5 separate regions of the Homo sapiens genome follow, and all the other regions are linked to region 5. Evidence: promoter capture Hi-C in 16 types of primary human blood cells and fetal thymus (Javierre and others, 2016). All regions are on one chromosome and are shown on one strand. Each heading gives the region's core, a stretch centred on a gene start or on the middle of the fragment in contact. The rest is flanking DNA. Distances are from core to core; before and after follow the strand shown.

What was found. Contacts are between HindIII fragments. The CHiCAGO score rates a contact against its expected background, and 5 or more counts as called.
Region 1: a fragment that was not itself captured here is called in contact with the fragment with the promoter of ALG8 in region 5 in 1 of 17 cell types (naive CD4 T cells); the score reaches 6.0 in naive CD4 T cells.
Region 2: a contact is called between a fragment that was not itself captured here and the fragment with the promoter of ALG8 in region 5, in 3 of 17 cell types (activated CD4 T cells, monocytes and naive CD4 T cells). The highest score is 6.4, in activated CD4 T cells.
Region 3: a fragment that was not itself captured here is called in contact with the fragment with the promoter of ALG8 in region 5 in 1 of 17 cell types (activated CD4 T cells); the score reaches 5.2 in activated CD4 T cells.
Region 4: a contact is called between a fragment that was not itself captured here and the fragment with the promoter of ALG8 in region 5, in 4 of 17 cell types (activated CD4 T cells, naive CD4 T cells, non-activated CD4 T cells and 1 more). The highest score is 6.1, in activated CD4 T cells.

The regions. Positions count from the first base shown.
Region 1 is chr11:77,986,580-77,989,279 of GRCh38, forward strand. All of the region lies in intron 2 of INTS4 (integrator complex subunit 4), which reads right to left. Among named protein-coding and RNA genes, the nearest start is that of INTS4, 6.7 kb to the right of the region's middle. The HindIII fragment of the contact is 1,128 bases long and covers 749-1,876 here.
Region 2 is chr11:78,378,952-78,381,651 of GRCh38, forward strand. The region is part of intron 1 of GAB2 (GRB2 associated binding protein 2); the gene reads right to left. Among named protein-coding and RNA genes, the nearest start is that of GAB2, 38 kb to the right of the region's middle. The HindIII fragment of the contact is 1,586 bases long and covers 514-2,099 here.
Region 3 is chr11:78,285,012-78,287,711 of GRCh38, forward strand. The region is part of intron 1 of GAB2 (GRB2 associated binding protein 2); the gene reads right to left. Among named protein-coding and RNA genes, the nearest start is that of USP35, 97 kb to the left of the region's middle. The HindIII fragment of the contact is 641 bases long and covers 989-1,629 here.
Region 4 is chr11:78,346,110-78,348,809 of GRCh38, forward strand. The region is part of intron 1 of GAB2 (GRB2 associated binding protein 2); the gene reads right to left. Among named protein-coding and RNA genes, the nearest start is that of GAB2, 70 kb to the right of the region's middle. The HindIII fragment of the contact is 575 bases long and covers 1,077-1,651 here.
Region 5 is chr11:78,138,234-78,140,933 of GRCh38, forward strand. ALG8 (ALG8 alpha-1,3-glucosyltransferase) reads right to left here and starts at 1,393. Exons shown (of 13, transcript NM_024079.5): 1 at 1,261-1,393. The coding sequence starts at 1,355. KCTD21-AS1 (KCTD21 antisense RNA 1) reads left to right here and starts at 1,560. Exons shown (of 3, transcript NR_102281.1): 1 at 1,560-1,839. RefSeq lists enhancers at 976-1,085, 1,166-1,245, 1,856-1,965, 2,126-2,700. The HindIII fragment of the contact is 5,506 bases long and covers 1,124-2,700 here.

The sequences.
Region 1 (2,700 bases), core at 63-2,562, 150 kb before region 5:
AGTAACCCAAATGTCCACCAACGATAGACTGGATTAAGAAAATGTGGCACATATACACCATGGAATACTATGCAGCCATAAAAAAGGATGCGTTCATGTCCTTCGCAGGGAAATGGATGAAGCTGAAAACCATCCTTCTCAGCAAACTATCACAAGGACAGAAAACCAAACACCGCATGTTCTCACTCATAGGTGGGAATTGAACAGTGAGAACACTTGGACACAGGGCGGGAAACATCACACACCGGGGCCTGTTGGGGAGTGGGGGGCTGGGGGAGGGATAGCATTAGGAGAAATACCTAAAGTAAATGATGAGTTAATGGGTGCAGCAAGCCAACATGGCACATGTATACACATGTAACAAACCTGCACGTTGTGCACATGTGCCCTAGAACCTAAAGTATAATAATAAAAAAAGAGTCTTCACCACTTAAAGATATAAATCAAAATTTATGATTAAAATAATATGATGCCAGGAATTTATTTTCATAAGAATCTGGTGGAGAAGGTGAGGGTAAAGAAGTAGAAGTGGATTGGGGAAGAGGGAAAATGAAACAAGTTTGGCCACAAAATGATAATTTTTGAAGCCAGGTAATGGGTACATGGGAATTAATTAAACTATTCTCTTTACTTACATAGTATATATCTGAAATGTTCCATAACAAAAGGTTTTTTAAAAAAAAAACCCAAGTTCAAATCCATACCTTCCATTTACTAGCTGGGTGACCTTGGATACTAAACAGCTCTAAGCTTAGTTCCATATCTGGAATTTAGAGATAACAATGGTGCTGTCACCAGGATTAAATAAAATATTACATATGGAAAGTGCTTTCAAACTCTAACAAGCAATATAATGTTAACTGCTCTAAGAAGTATTATTATAGATGATTATTGGTAACAGATCTTTAATATAATAATAATGGTAGATATTGCTAAGAAAAAGACTAACGGAAAATAGATCACTGAGAGATCGAAAACTTCTTGAGAACAGAAATCCTGATTTTGGTCAGATGTGGTAGCTCACGTCTGTAATCCCAATCCTTTGGGAGGGCCAAGCAGGAGGGTTGCTTGAGCTCAGGAATTCGCGACCAGCCTGGGCAACACAGAGAGACTCCATCTCTACAAAAAAAATTAAAAAGAAAAAATTAGCCGGGAGTGGTGGCATGTGCCTGTGGTCCCAGCTCCTCAGGAGGCTGAGGTGGGAGGATGGCTTGAGCCTGGGAGTCCAGACTTCAGTGGGCAGTGATCACGCCATTGCACTCTAGATTGGGCAACAGAGCAACACTCAAAAAGATGCCAGGCACAGTGGTTCATGCCTGTAATCCCAGCACTTTGGGAGGCTGAGGTAGGTGAATCGCTTGAGCCCAGGAGTTTGAGACCAACCTTGGTAACATGGTGAAACCTCATCTCTATCAAAAATATAAAAATTAGCCAGTCTCATAACCCAGTCTCTAGATAGATAGATACGATTTTTTAAAAAATTTTTTAAAGAAAAGAACAACAAAAAAAGAAAGCCTGATTTTATTCACGTAAAACATAAGTGAAACATTTATAATGTCCCTTCAATGTTCCTAGGAACCTGCCAGGCACTGGGATAGAGACTAATGGATCTGCAGCCTCTGAATTTACGGAGCTCAAAGTCTGAAGGAGATAGACACATATGGCAAACAATTGCAACGCATAAGACTTAACAATTGTGCTAATGGACACCGTCCAGTGCCCAGAACAAAGTCTGATATATATTTGTTGAGTAAAATGTATCACAAAAGCATCAATTAATTCATTTATTCATTCAACAAATATTTATTTTACCAGGCACTGTTCTTGATTCTGTAGAAACAACAATTAAAAAACATAAAAATCCCTGCTCAAGGGAAGCTTATGTTCCTGCATGGGGAAATGGACAAGGAACATAATTAACAAGAAATTATACAGAATATTAGAAGATGGTAATTACTATGGAGAAAACAAAATCAAGGAAGGGGACTAGGAAGTGCGGGGTGGGGATAGGCAGTTTCGATATGAAACAGAAGGGTAAAGGAAGACCTCAATGTAACGGTGACATTTGCATGCTGATAGCTGCAATATGAAGTACAAGTCACCATTTATAACATAGTCTTAAAATTGTCAAAAATATGCTTAACTTAAATCTAACAAAGCCTATAGATCTAACTTTCAGTTCATAGTAAATACAGAGAACAGAGGAACAAGTTAATCCTTAAAGAAGTAAATGAATTCAGAAAACAAGACATTTTACAAAAGAACTGTCTCAGTTTCTTCATCAAATCAATGTCACCAAAATAGTAACTGTTGTAGATTTTTGAAAAGACTGAATGCCATGTGGGGACCTGGTTTGCATTTTGATTTGAATACATCAACTATAAAAAGGTACTGGGAGAACAACTACAGAAATCTAAATATCAACTAATTCTTAGATGACATTAAAGAATTACTTAACTTTATTCATTAGGGTTAGGTGGCTATGTTAAAAAATAAAAAGTCCCTCTACTTTCTCATAGCAGTGAGAAAAAAAAAGAAAACAACAAAAAGGTATCCCTTTTTAATAGATATGTAATGAAATAATTAGAAAAAAATGACATATCTTTTTAAAAATTCAACAAAACAAGGCTGGGCGCGGTGGCTCACACCTGTAATCCCAGCACTTTGGGAGGCCGAGGCAGGTGGATCACCCGAGGTCTG
Region 2 (2,700 bases), core at 57-2,556, 240 kb after region 5:
TGAAGCTTAGGATAGATGGAGCCAGCTTCCCCAGAATCACACAGATGTCTGAACACAAATTAAGGTGTTGCAAGGAAGGAGAAAGGAGATGAATTTAAGAGAAGCAATCAATAAGTGTTCGTTACATACAAGGAAAATTGGAATCAAGTTATTAAGATCATCCAGCTCTCTGAACCATCTGATCAGTAACTCCTCCTGTTCACATTACTTCCTGTTGTGACCTCACGCTTCTTCAGACTAATTTAAGACTGTGGTTCTCCAGAGGCTTCAGCTATTCTCCACAGAGAAGCTAGCTGATTTGTCATGACTTCTAATCACTCATCCTGAGTACCAAATTGAAATGCTGATTTGGCAAGATTATTAAAAGATCTCAAGGCACTTTCCAGAACATAAAAGACTTGGTTAAAAGTAAGTATCTCTTGAGTCAATTAAAATGTCCTTGGCTGTCTTTCTTGCCTTGGTTTCCTCCTTAGTAAGTGTAAATTCAAAATAACAGGGAAATAGATAAGGTAAAGCTTCTTTTTAGGAAAGGGTTTTCTCACACAGTTGACCGACAAGACAGATTTCCTACTGGCTGGACTGATAACAGTGAGCAAATGGGTCCTGATACCTTCACCATCCTATGATTTTCAACAAGCTACTATATTTCATTAATTCAAATTCAGTTCTATTTTAACATCAAAATCAGAATGTTTCCTACTGTTGAGAGTGTCTTACAGTTAAGCTGCAGTCAGGACACAGCTGTCATTGCCTGCACAAGAGTGTACTTGGTTGTCATGTCTGTCATTGTGACTGAACAAATACAACCCTGAACAAATAAATCAAGGGCCATTTTAAGGAGAAACATGAATTTCAGTAGTTGTGAGACTTTTTGCTAAGATCTTCTAGTAAGACCAAGAAAGTGCCAAAGTTGAAACTTGCAAAATACGTGTCAGTAACCTGAAAGAAAAATTTGAAGACAATGTTGAATCATTTTTAAGAAATGTTGCACCATCAATACTCTTGATGGCATGCAGGGCAGTTATTATGTAGGCAAATATGGACAATGAATTAAAAAGTGATTGAAAGCTAGAATTGATTATGAAGTAGTTTTAGAAATTTCTTTACCAATGTTTCATTTATACTTTTCTTTTTTGTGTATGCAAGAGAGTGCCGGACTATAAATCCATGTCCGCATAAGTCTACAAGCACTCTTTCAATAAGGTATTTATTCCCCTGCTTAGTGGAATATAAAATAATTGTGAATGACATTGAATGAGAACTTTTTTTTTTTTTGAGACGAAGTCTCGCTCTGTCGCCAGGCTGAAATGCAGTGGTGTGATCTCAGCTCACTGCAACCTCCGCCTCCCGGGTTCAAGTGATTCTGCCTCAGCCTCCCAAGTAGCTGGGACTACAGGTGCGTGCCACCATGCCCAGCTAATTTTTGTATTTTTAGTAGAGACAGGGGTTTCACCACGTTGGCCAGGATGGTCTCAATCTCTTGACCGCGTGATCCGCCTGCCTCGGCCTCCCAAAGTGCTGGGATTACAGGAATGAGAACATTTCTAAGGCCTCATTTGAAAATTGGGATGACAAAGACTCCCTAATAGCTGTAGAATAAAATGCAAATAAAACACAGCATTCAAAGGCCTCTATAACATTGCCTAAATCTACATTTTCCACTCTTGTCTCCTATCACACTTCCAAGTCCACTACACACTGTGAAATTAAATAATTCAAACTGAAAGCTATTGGAACTTTAAATTATTCGGAGCCTTGGGAGGAATGTGGCTATGCAGCCTGAGTCACATGTCATGCAGCTGCAACTTCTGCCCCCATTCCCCACCCCCAAACCCCCCACCCCGTAATTAAGACCAAATGGCGCCAGAGATAAGACCATCTCAGAACGTTGTCCCTCCTCATGGAGTAATCTTCCTTGGAATGTAGGAATCTGTAACCAGTCAAATCACTGTAACGTATGCACTGGTCTTGTATGGGAAATGTTGTAATCCTGTTAAAATTTCTGTGTCTCTGCCTATGTAAGTGAAACCTTATCTTCTCTACTTTGAAACTCTGACCCCATTCATTTGGAGTCAGTGTCTCCCAGGTGGCCATACTTAAGCTTTGTACTCAAATAGACTCTACTTAATCGTATTTTCTGAATCTCACTATTTAAGGTTGACAATACCAAATTATACACATTATTCCTTGAAGATCACCTGCTCCTTTTCACTTCTGTGCCTTTAAGTTGTTTCTTCCACTGAAAATGTCCCATCTCCCATCCATCTCATTTACTAGAAGGTGGTCTTGAATAGCTTCTTTAATCTCTCAATTCCTCACTTTTCTTATCTTTGAAATGGGAATCTAACTTTAGGTTTGATTTGAGGATTTAATGAGCTAATACATATAAAGCACTTAACACAGACTCCAACTAACCTGTGGTCAAGCAGTATTTATCTGTGTCTTGAGAGATGAGTCTCAAAAAAGTAGTGAACTAGCCAAGGGCACACAGCTTATTTAACAGCTAAGGCAGAGTAAGAACTTAGACCTCCTCACTCCCAGTACAGAGCTGTCTTTAGATTTAAGAAATGGCTCTTCCTCCTCCCACCTGCTACAGCCAAATACTGCTAGACTGGTAAAAAAGGTTCTTCTTTTATTTCCCTAGAAGCCTGTTTCTCCCTCTTCCTCCTTTCCCTATATCAGATCTCCTAAACATGTTAC
Region 3 (2,700 bases), core at 59-2,558, 150 kb after region 5:
CTGAGAAAAATAAAAATAAGTACTATTTATTTATAGTAATTTAAAATCTTAACCCGGTCACTGCTTTCAGAATTATGCATGTACTTCTGTGTGCTGCAGGTTCACACATAGACACATAGTGTGTGGGCACCAAGGTGCATTTTAAAAAGATCTGTTTCTAGTTCAGCTGGCATTTCAGTTGATGTGTCCCCGTTAGTCTTGTCTCTGTGGAAAGAGCTGTCCCCAAATCTCTGGTATGCAGGTGCAAGCACAAAAAACACAGACACCCTCATGAACAAGAAAACCATGTTTGCTACAGATAATATCAGAGCCTGTCAGGTTTTGCTTCCAAGTAAGTGGTGTAGGCTGATAAATGGCTGCCTACAAAATACTGATATATTTATGACAGAGTCAGCAAGGCTGTCTAGTCTAGTCCCAAATTCACACATCCCTCTTCCACCACAACACCTTCTCTCCACTTCCAGGTTTTATTTATTTATATATATTTTTAGAGTACCCAGGCTGGTGTGCAGTGGCATCATCTCGTTCACTGCAACTTCCACCTCCCAGGTTCAGGCGATTCTCCCGCCTCCGCCTCTCTTCAGTAAATGGGATTACAGGCGTGTGCCACTATGCCCAGCTAATTTTGTATTTTTAGTAGAGACGGGGTTTCACCATGTTGGTCAGGCTGGTATTGAACTCCTAACCTTAATTGATCCACCCACCTCAGCCTCCCAAAGTGCTGGGATTACAGGCGTGAGCCACGGCATGGGGCCCCATGTGTTTTTAAAAAGCCAAACAATTCAGAACCAAGTACAAACAACTCTAAGTGTCTGGCCTCAGTGACAACTTCCCTGATCCATTCATCTGAAGTGGACCTCTATTTCCTCGGAACCTTCATAATGCTTTTTATGTTCTTTTCAAGGCATGTCAGTTTTTACAACAATCATGAGTGTTTTTGTACTTGTCTCTTCCCAACTAGGACATGAACAAAATTCTTTATTGCCAAAGCTTTCTTACCGCTCTCACCTCAATTATGTTTCCTTCCTCCATCGCTCTTTCCCTCCTTTGTTTCCTTACATCCAACAAATATTTATTCAGTGCTTACTATGCTCTAGGTATTATTCTAATGCTGAGGATACAGCATGAATTCCTCGTCTCACAGAATTTACAGGAGCACTAAAAATTACCTATTATTCTCCAAATAGTAAGTCATGTAATTTCATGACTTTATGTCTTTGCACAAGCTATGGCTTCTGCCTAGAAAGGCTTTCACCTTACCTCATCCATCTGGAGAATTTCTATGTTCTCTCAGTGCCAGCACAAATGTCACTTCTCCTGGAAGGCCTTTATTGACTCCCCCAGGTAGAGCTGGAGGTGCTTCTGCTTGTTTTCCCTTACTAACCTGTGCTTACCCCACGCTGGCATTTCTTTCCCCGGGTTTGACATTTCTACTCCCTGCTTTGGCATTTCTAATGCTTATATGTCTTTCTCCCCTTTAAGTTCTGAGCATCCTGAGATTAAGGTCCAATGTGGCCAAAAACTACATGGCAGAGTGCTTAACACATATAGGAGCTCAGGGAAGATCTGTTGATTTTTTTTCATTCCATGAATATGTTAATTTGTTCAAATTAATAAAACTTATACGTAAGCTTTCACAGTAGGAAGTAGAAAAGAAGGACAGCAAGAGGATTACAGAAAAAAGAATAAGATAAAGATGTGTAATAGATTCTCTATGGTGTGAGTTATTTGGCACCTTGTTCCCTTCATTCTGATAAGTGCAGTATCCATGTAATAAATATTTATAAGGGGGGTCTGGGAGCTTCACCTGAAAAGTAACCCATGATACAAAAATGAAAAATTGCTGTTGGATTACTGACACATAATGCAAGGAGAATACGGGACATGAGTCCTGAATATGCTATTAAAGAGAAAGCTTTTTCAGGACTGTTCTAACGTCTATATAAAATCTCATACAAAAATTAACTCAAAATGGATTATGGACTTACACATAAAATACAAATAGAATTCAGCAATCTATAAAAACACATGACCAAATGGAATTTATTCCAAGGAGGTAAGGCTGATTCCATATTTGAAATCCGTCATCTACCATATTAATAGGCTGAAGAAAAACTGCATGATCATATCTTTCAATGCAAAAAATATTTGATAAAATTAAACACTCATTCTTGATAAAAACTCTCAGAAAAACAGGAACAGAGGGGAGCTTCTTCAACTTGAAAAAGAGCAGCAACAAAAGACCACTATCAAATGTTATACTTAGTTTTTTTTGGTTGTTTGCTGAGGCAGGGTCTCACTCTGTCACTCAGGTTGGAATGCAGAGGCATGAACATGGCTCACTGCAGCCTCAACCTCCTGGCTCAAGTGAATCTCCCACCTCAGCCTCCTGAGTGGCTGAGATCACAGGTGCATGCCACTATGCCTGGCTAATTTCTAAATTTTTGTAGAGATGGGGGTCTCACTATTTTTCCCAGGCTGTTCTTAAACTCCTGGGCTCAAGTAATCTTCCTGCCTTGGCCTCCCAAAATGCTGTGATTACAAGTGTGAACCAGCAAACCTGGCCTATACTTAGATTTGAGAGACTGAATCCTCTTTCCTAAGATCAGGAATAAGGCAAGGACATTTGCTCTTATCATTTTTTTTTTTTTTTTTGAGACAGAGTCTTACTCTGTTGCTCAGGGTGGAGTGCAGTGGCAC
Region 4 (2,700 bases), core at 114-2,613, 210 kb after region 5:
TCGACAGCTGTAAAAAATTAAAAATAACTTTAAAAATAACAGGCAGAATGACTACAATTCTTCACCCTTCATGTCTGGACTTTGAAATCAAACTGCCCGGATTAGCCAAAGTGAAAGGAATAAATCTGTTAAGGCACCTTAAATAGGGCTCCATATTCAAAACATACCCTTTATAAGCTTCCAACACCCCCTTATTCAGACTTTTTATGAGTATCATCTCACATCCTTACTCTTCAGAAAGAGATCTAATAAAAGAACAGGAGGAAATAATATAAGCACACACATGTGCCAGAAACTGAGTAACAAACCCATAAAGTACTTGTTATTCCCATTTTACAGAATAGGAAATCGAACTTCATAGAGACTGGGTGATTTGCTAGCTATGTAAATACTGGAGCTGGGATTCAAATGTAGGTACTTCTCACTTTAAAGCTCCATATTCTTCCCACCTACATCATGCTGCCTGAGAAGAGAAGAGAAGAGAAGAGAAAGGAGAATTTACCAAATCTACATTAATGAGAAGCAAGAACAGAGAGGTATGGGCTGTTCTGTTTACATCCCCTCCATATATATATATATATATATATATATATATATATATATATATATATAATTTTTTTTTTTTTTAGGAAAAGAAACAAAATATTCCTGCTAGGTAAGACTCAGAGACTCTTTCAAGATGACAAAAGTGAATAGCCTCAAATAGACCTTTCTTTTTAGAGGGGGGCATTAAGTATCAGAGCCAGGGGAGCTCTCTCATGATTCTGTCATGGCTCAAGGAAAATTTTAAGAAAAATACTGTTTACCTAGTATGACCAGAGCATCTAAGAGAATCCAGAAGGAGTGGTGAGGCAGAGAAAGGGAGGGAAAGCAGACTGACTCACTATTTGTTTTCCAAAAATAAAAAATCAAACCAAACATAGCAGGAATGAACCATCCAACTGGGTGATCTAAGGATTAACTGTCCATGTGGCCAAACGTTTAATTTAATCTTTCTGATGGACCAGCTATAAAAGAGAAGAAGAGCTCAGTATAAGACTCCTTATCAAGAGGGCACCAAAAAAAGTTGTATTTAAAGCTTTTGAGATACAGACCTAAGCAAATGGCTTGATATGAAACCCCTGGTTCTAGTTTCCAACATGCTTGCTGTGGCCAACTTCATAAGGTTGGGTTTGGAGATATGAATGTCCTCCGAGTGTCAACTACCATCTCACATTTTTATATCCTCCTCATAGGGTACAGCTGGGCGTTTTTATATGGGTCCAAACTGACATTGAAAACAATGCCAACATAATAAGGTAGAAAGAACATGGGCTTTGGAGTTGGGCAATCATGGACTTGAGCCTTGGTTGTACGATTTGAACAAGTTAATACTTCTGAGACTTCTTTTCTTCATCATTAAAATAAGGATAATTATCTTAGAACATTTATTTCTTGAGAAATAAAGTTCCTGATACATAATAGACACTTACCTAAAAGATAATCCCCATGTTAACCCTTGCTTCACACCATATACAAACATTAACTTGAACTGGATTATAGACCTAAATGTAAAAGCTAAAACATCTCCTACAAGAAAACATAGGAGAAAAATCTTTGTGACCTTTAAGTAAACAAAAAGCATAAATCATAAAAGAAAAACTGAAAACTAAGCTTCATCAAAATTCAAAGCTTTTGTTCCTCAAATGATACAATTAAGAGAAGGAAAGGGCATGACACAAACTGGGAGAACATACAGTTGAACCTTGAACAACATGGGGGTTAGGGGATGGCTCCCTCCCATGCAGTCAAAAATCCATGTACAACTTTTGACTCCCCTGAAACTTAACTACTATAAACAGTGGAATAACACATACTTAGTATGTTATATATTATATATTGCATTTTTACAGTAAAGATAGAGAAAAAAATCATAAGGAAGATTAAAATGTATTTAGTATTGATTAAGTGGAAGTGGATCATCATAAAGGTCTTTATCTTCATCTTGACATTGAGTAGGCTGAGGAGAAAGAGGAAAAGAAGAGGTTAGACTTGCTGTCTCAGCAGTGACAGAAGCAGAAGAGGTAGAAGGGGAGGAAGGGGAGGCAGGAGAGGCAAGCACACTCAGTGTCACTTTTACTGAAAAGAATCCAAGTATAAATGGACCCATGCAGTTCAAGCCCATTTTGTTCAAGGATCAGTTGTATTCACATGTTTTCACAGATTGAAGGAAATGTTTAATATATTTCTATCTTACAAAGAACTGGTATCCAGATCATAAAAGGAACTTGTACAACTCAGTAAGAAGATAAATGACACAATTTTTTAAATGGGCAAAAGATTTGAACAGATACTAGACAAAAGAAGATAGTATACAAAATGCCAGTTGGCACATGGTGCTCAACATCACTAGACATCAGGGAAACAAATGAAAACCACAATGAATACCATGACCTATAAACCCATTAGAATGACTAAAATTAAAAAGGCTGATCACACTAAGTGCTTCTGAGATTGTAAAGCAACTGGAAATCACATACACTGTTGATAGGAAAGTAAAACAATACAGTTTGGAAGTTTCTCAAAAAGTTTAACACGTATCTACCATATGACTGAGCCATTCAACTGCTGGGTATACCTGGGAGAAATGAAAATGTATGCTCCACAGAAAGATTTCCAAGTGAATGTTCATATCAGCTTTATTTAAAAGAGCCAGAAACA
Region 5 (2,700 bases), core at 143-2,642:
AGCTACTCCGGAGGCTGAGGCAGGAGAATCGTTTGAACCCGGGAGGCAGAGGTTGCAGTAAGCTGAGATCGTGCCACTGTACTCCAGCCTGGGTGACAGAGTGGGACGAGACTGTCTCAAAAAAAAAAAAAATAACAAACAAAAAAAACAACTCTGAGGATACATTTCTAGCCTGAGGCAACTAAAGCAAGAAATAATCTTATGCACAGACCTACAGTTAATCATTTTACTGAATCTACATATACATTCCACTTACATGATTACATATACGCATCAGTATGGACTTACATTCTATACATATGACTCTCCCATATTCAACAAGAGATCACCAAGAGCCTGAATCAAAGGATACCAATAAAACAAACCCTAAACTAGGAAGTGGGAGGGAAAGGAGAAAAGGGATGAGGGAGAAAAAGAAAAAAGAGGAAGGATGAAGGGAAGGCGGAAGCCAATATTAATAAATACTGAGTACCTACTGTATACACACCACCATTTCATGGTTGCTTCTTGGTTTCCACGCTTTCAGTCTTGGCCCTACATCCATTTTTTACACAGCAGTCTAACTGTGGTCTTCGAAACCCTGTGTTATCTGTCCCCAGTGCACCCCATGCTGTGCCACTCCTCTCCCTCAATGCTCTGCAGCCACAAGGGGCACTTTCTGTTCCTAGAATGCTCTGACTTCTTTCCTGCCACAGGGCCTTTGAACTTACTCTTTCCTATGCCTGAACTGCTTTCCACATCACTTATTCTTTTTCATTTTTTGAATTTCAACTCAAACATCACCTTCTAAAGGAATAGCGCACAGCCACTTAGTAACCCTCTATTTCCTTTATCACAATCTGAAAAGTTCCTGTTTGTCTAGCTCCACCCACCAACTTCGAGGGCAAGGACCAGCAATGTCTTGCTCACCACCGCATCTCCCGGGAGTTAGAACGGTACCTGGCACCTCAGGCATCTGATAATACTGGCTGAATGGCTGTTGGAGGCAGAGGTTCTTAACTGCCTATTAAGGATGAGGACCCTGAGGTTCAGAAACGTTAAAGTGATTTGTTCCAAATCAGACAGCGCCAGGTCTGAACCTAGCCAGCTGGGGCTAAGTCAAGTAACAACTGGCGAAACAGAAAGCTTAGCAAAGGCAGGATAGCGACAAACACGACCTAAAGTTTTCTCTTCATACCCAGGGATATCCACACCTTTCTCTCCCGCCCTGACCGACCGCGGGGCCTCCCCGCCCAGCCCCTGGCCGTGCGAGTCCCTTACTATGTGGGGATGAGAAGGCATTTGAGAAGAGTCACCCCGAGCGCCAAAGCCGAAAACCAATTGCCAGTACCCGTGGCAATTGTGAGCGCCGCCATTGCTGCGGCACCGCACGCTTCCCACCAACTTGATCCACATCCGGGATCCCGCGCATGCGGAGAAAGCCCTCTGAAGCCGTGCCCGCTAGCTGCGCGCATGCGGCGAGCGGCGCAGCCAGTCCGGGGACTGCAGTCAGCTATTTAAACCTCCCGCCCACCTTTTCTTTAGACCCGCGTCTCACCCCGGGCCGGAAGGGCTCCTGCGCAGGCGTTTGTAGCCACTTTTAAGTTTTATCAGCTAGTTCATGCTTGCGTTGAAAGAGTGGTCGTTTGCGCTGGGTCATCACTGTGTAGTATTGGGGATACTTAGGTGAGAAAAAAACTTAACGCTAGAGACGTTCACGCACTAGTGGAGAAGCCAGGATTGTTGCCCTAGAGTTACAGTAGATAAAAGTACCTCAGAGAACTGCGGGGGCTCCCAACCTGGACGCTTGCACCGGAGTATTAAATCCAGCTAGAGAATGGCATGTGCAAAGATACAGAGGTGAGAAACATTGTGTTTTTAGAACTCTGAGCGAGGCTCTTGGCTCACCTCCTGCTTGAGCGGAACCCATTCTGGAAGCAGGGTAGAGGCTAGTCCTAACGCTTAGTGTACAAATAGCCTACGGTTCATGTTAAAATAATTCGGATTCTGATTCAGTAGGCCCAACAAACTCGCAGATTGCGTAATGACTGAGGCACATGCAATTTAATTAGGCTTGTCTCATTATTTTACTGTATGATCTTGGACAAACTAAACTCTAAACCTCAGTTTCTTTTTTTAAAATTTTTATTTATTTATTTATTTTTGAAAATAGGAGATAAAAATGGTTTCTGGCCGGACGCGGTGGCTCACGCCTGTAATCCCAACACTGGGAGGCCGAGGTGGGCGAATCACCTGAGTTCAGGAGTTTGAGATCAGCCTGGCCAATATGGTGAAACCCTGTCTCTACTAAAAATTAAAAAAAAATTAGCCGTGCATGGTGGCGGGCGCTTGTAATTCCACCTACTCGGGAGGCTGAAGCTAGAGAATCGCGTGAACGTGGGAGGCGGAGGTTGCAGTGAGCTGAGATCGCGCCATTGCACTTCAGCCTGGGCAAGCCTCAGGCCTGTTTATCCAAGATGCTTTTGGTCTAAAAAAAAAAAAGTTTCAGCCTCATAAACTGGTTGTGAGGATTAAATGAGAATGCATGTAAATTGCTTGATATGATTCCAGGACAGAATAAATGCTCAATAATGTGTCAGATCAGTTAATTATCTTGCTGAAAGATGCACAGCAAGTAGGTGACAGTGTCACCTCCCTAATATGAGTTTATGCCCTCCCACAGCTTCAGCTGCCACCCATGTGAATATGATTCACAGATTT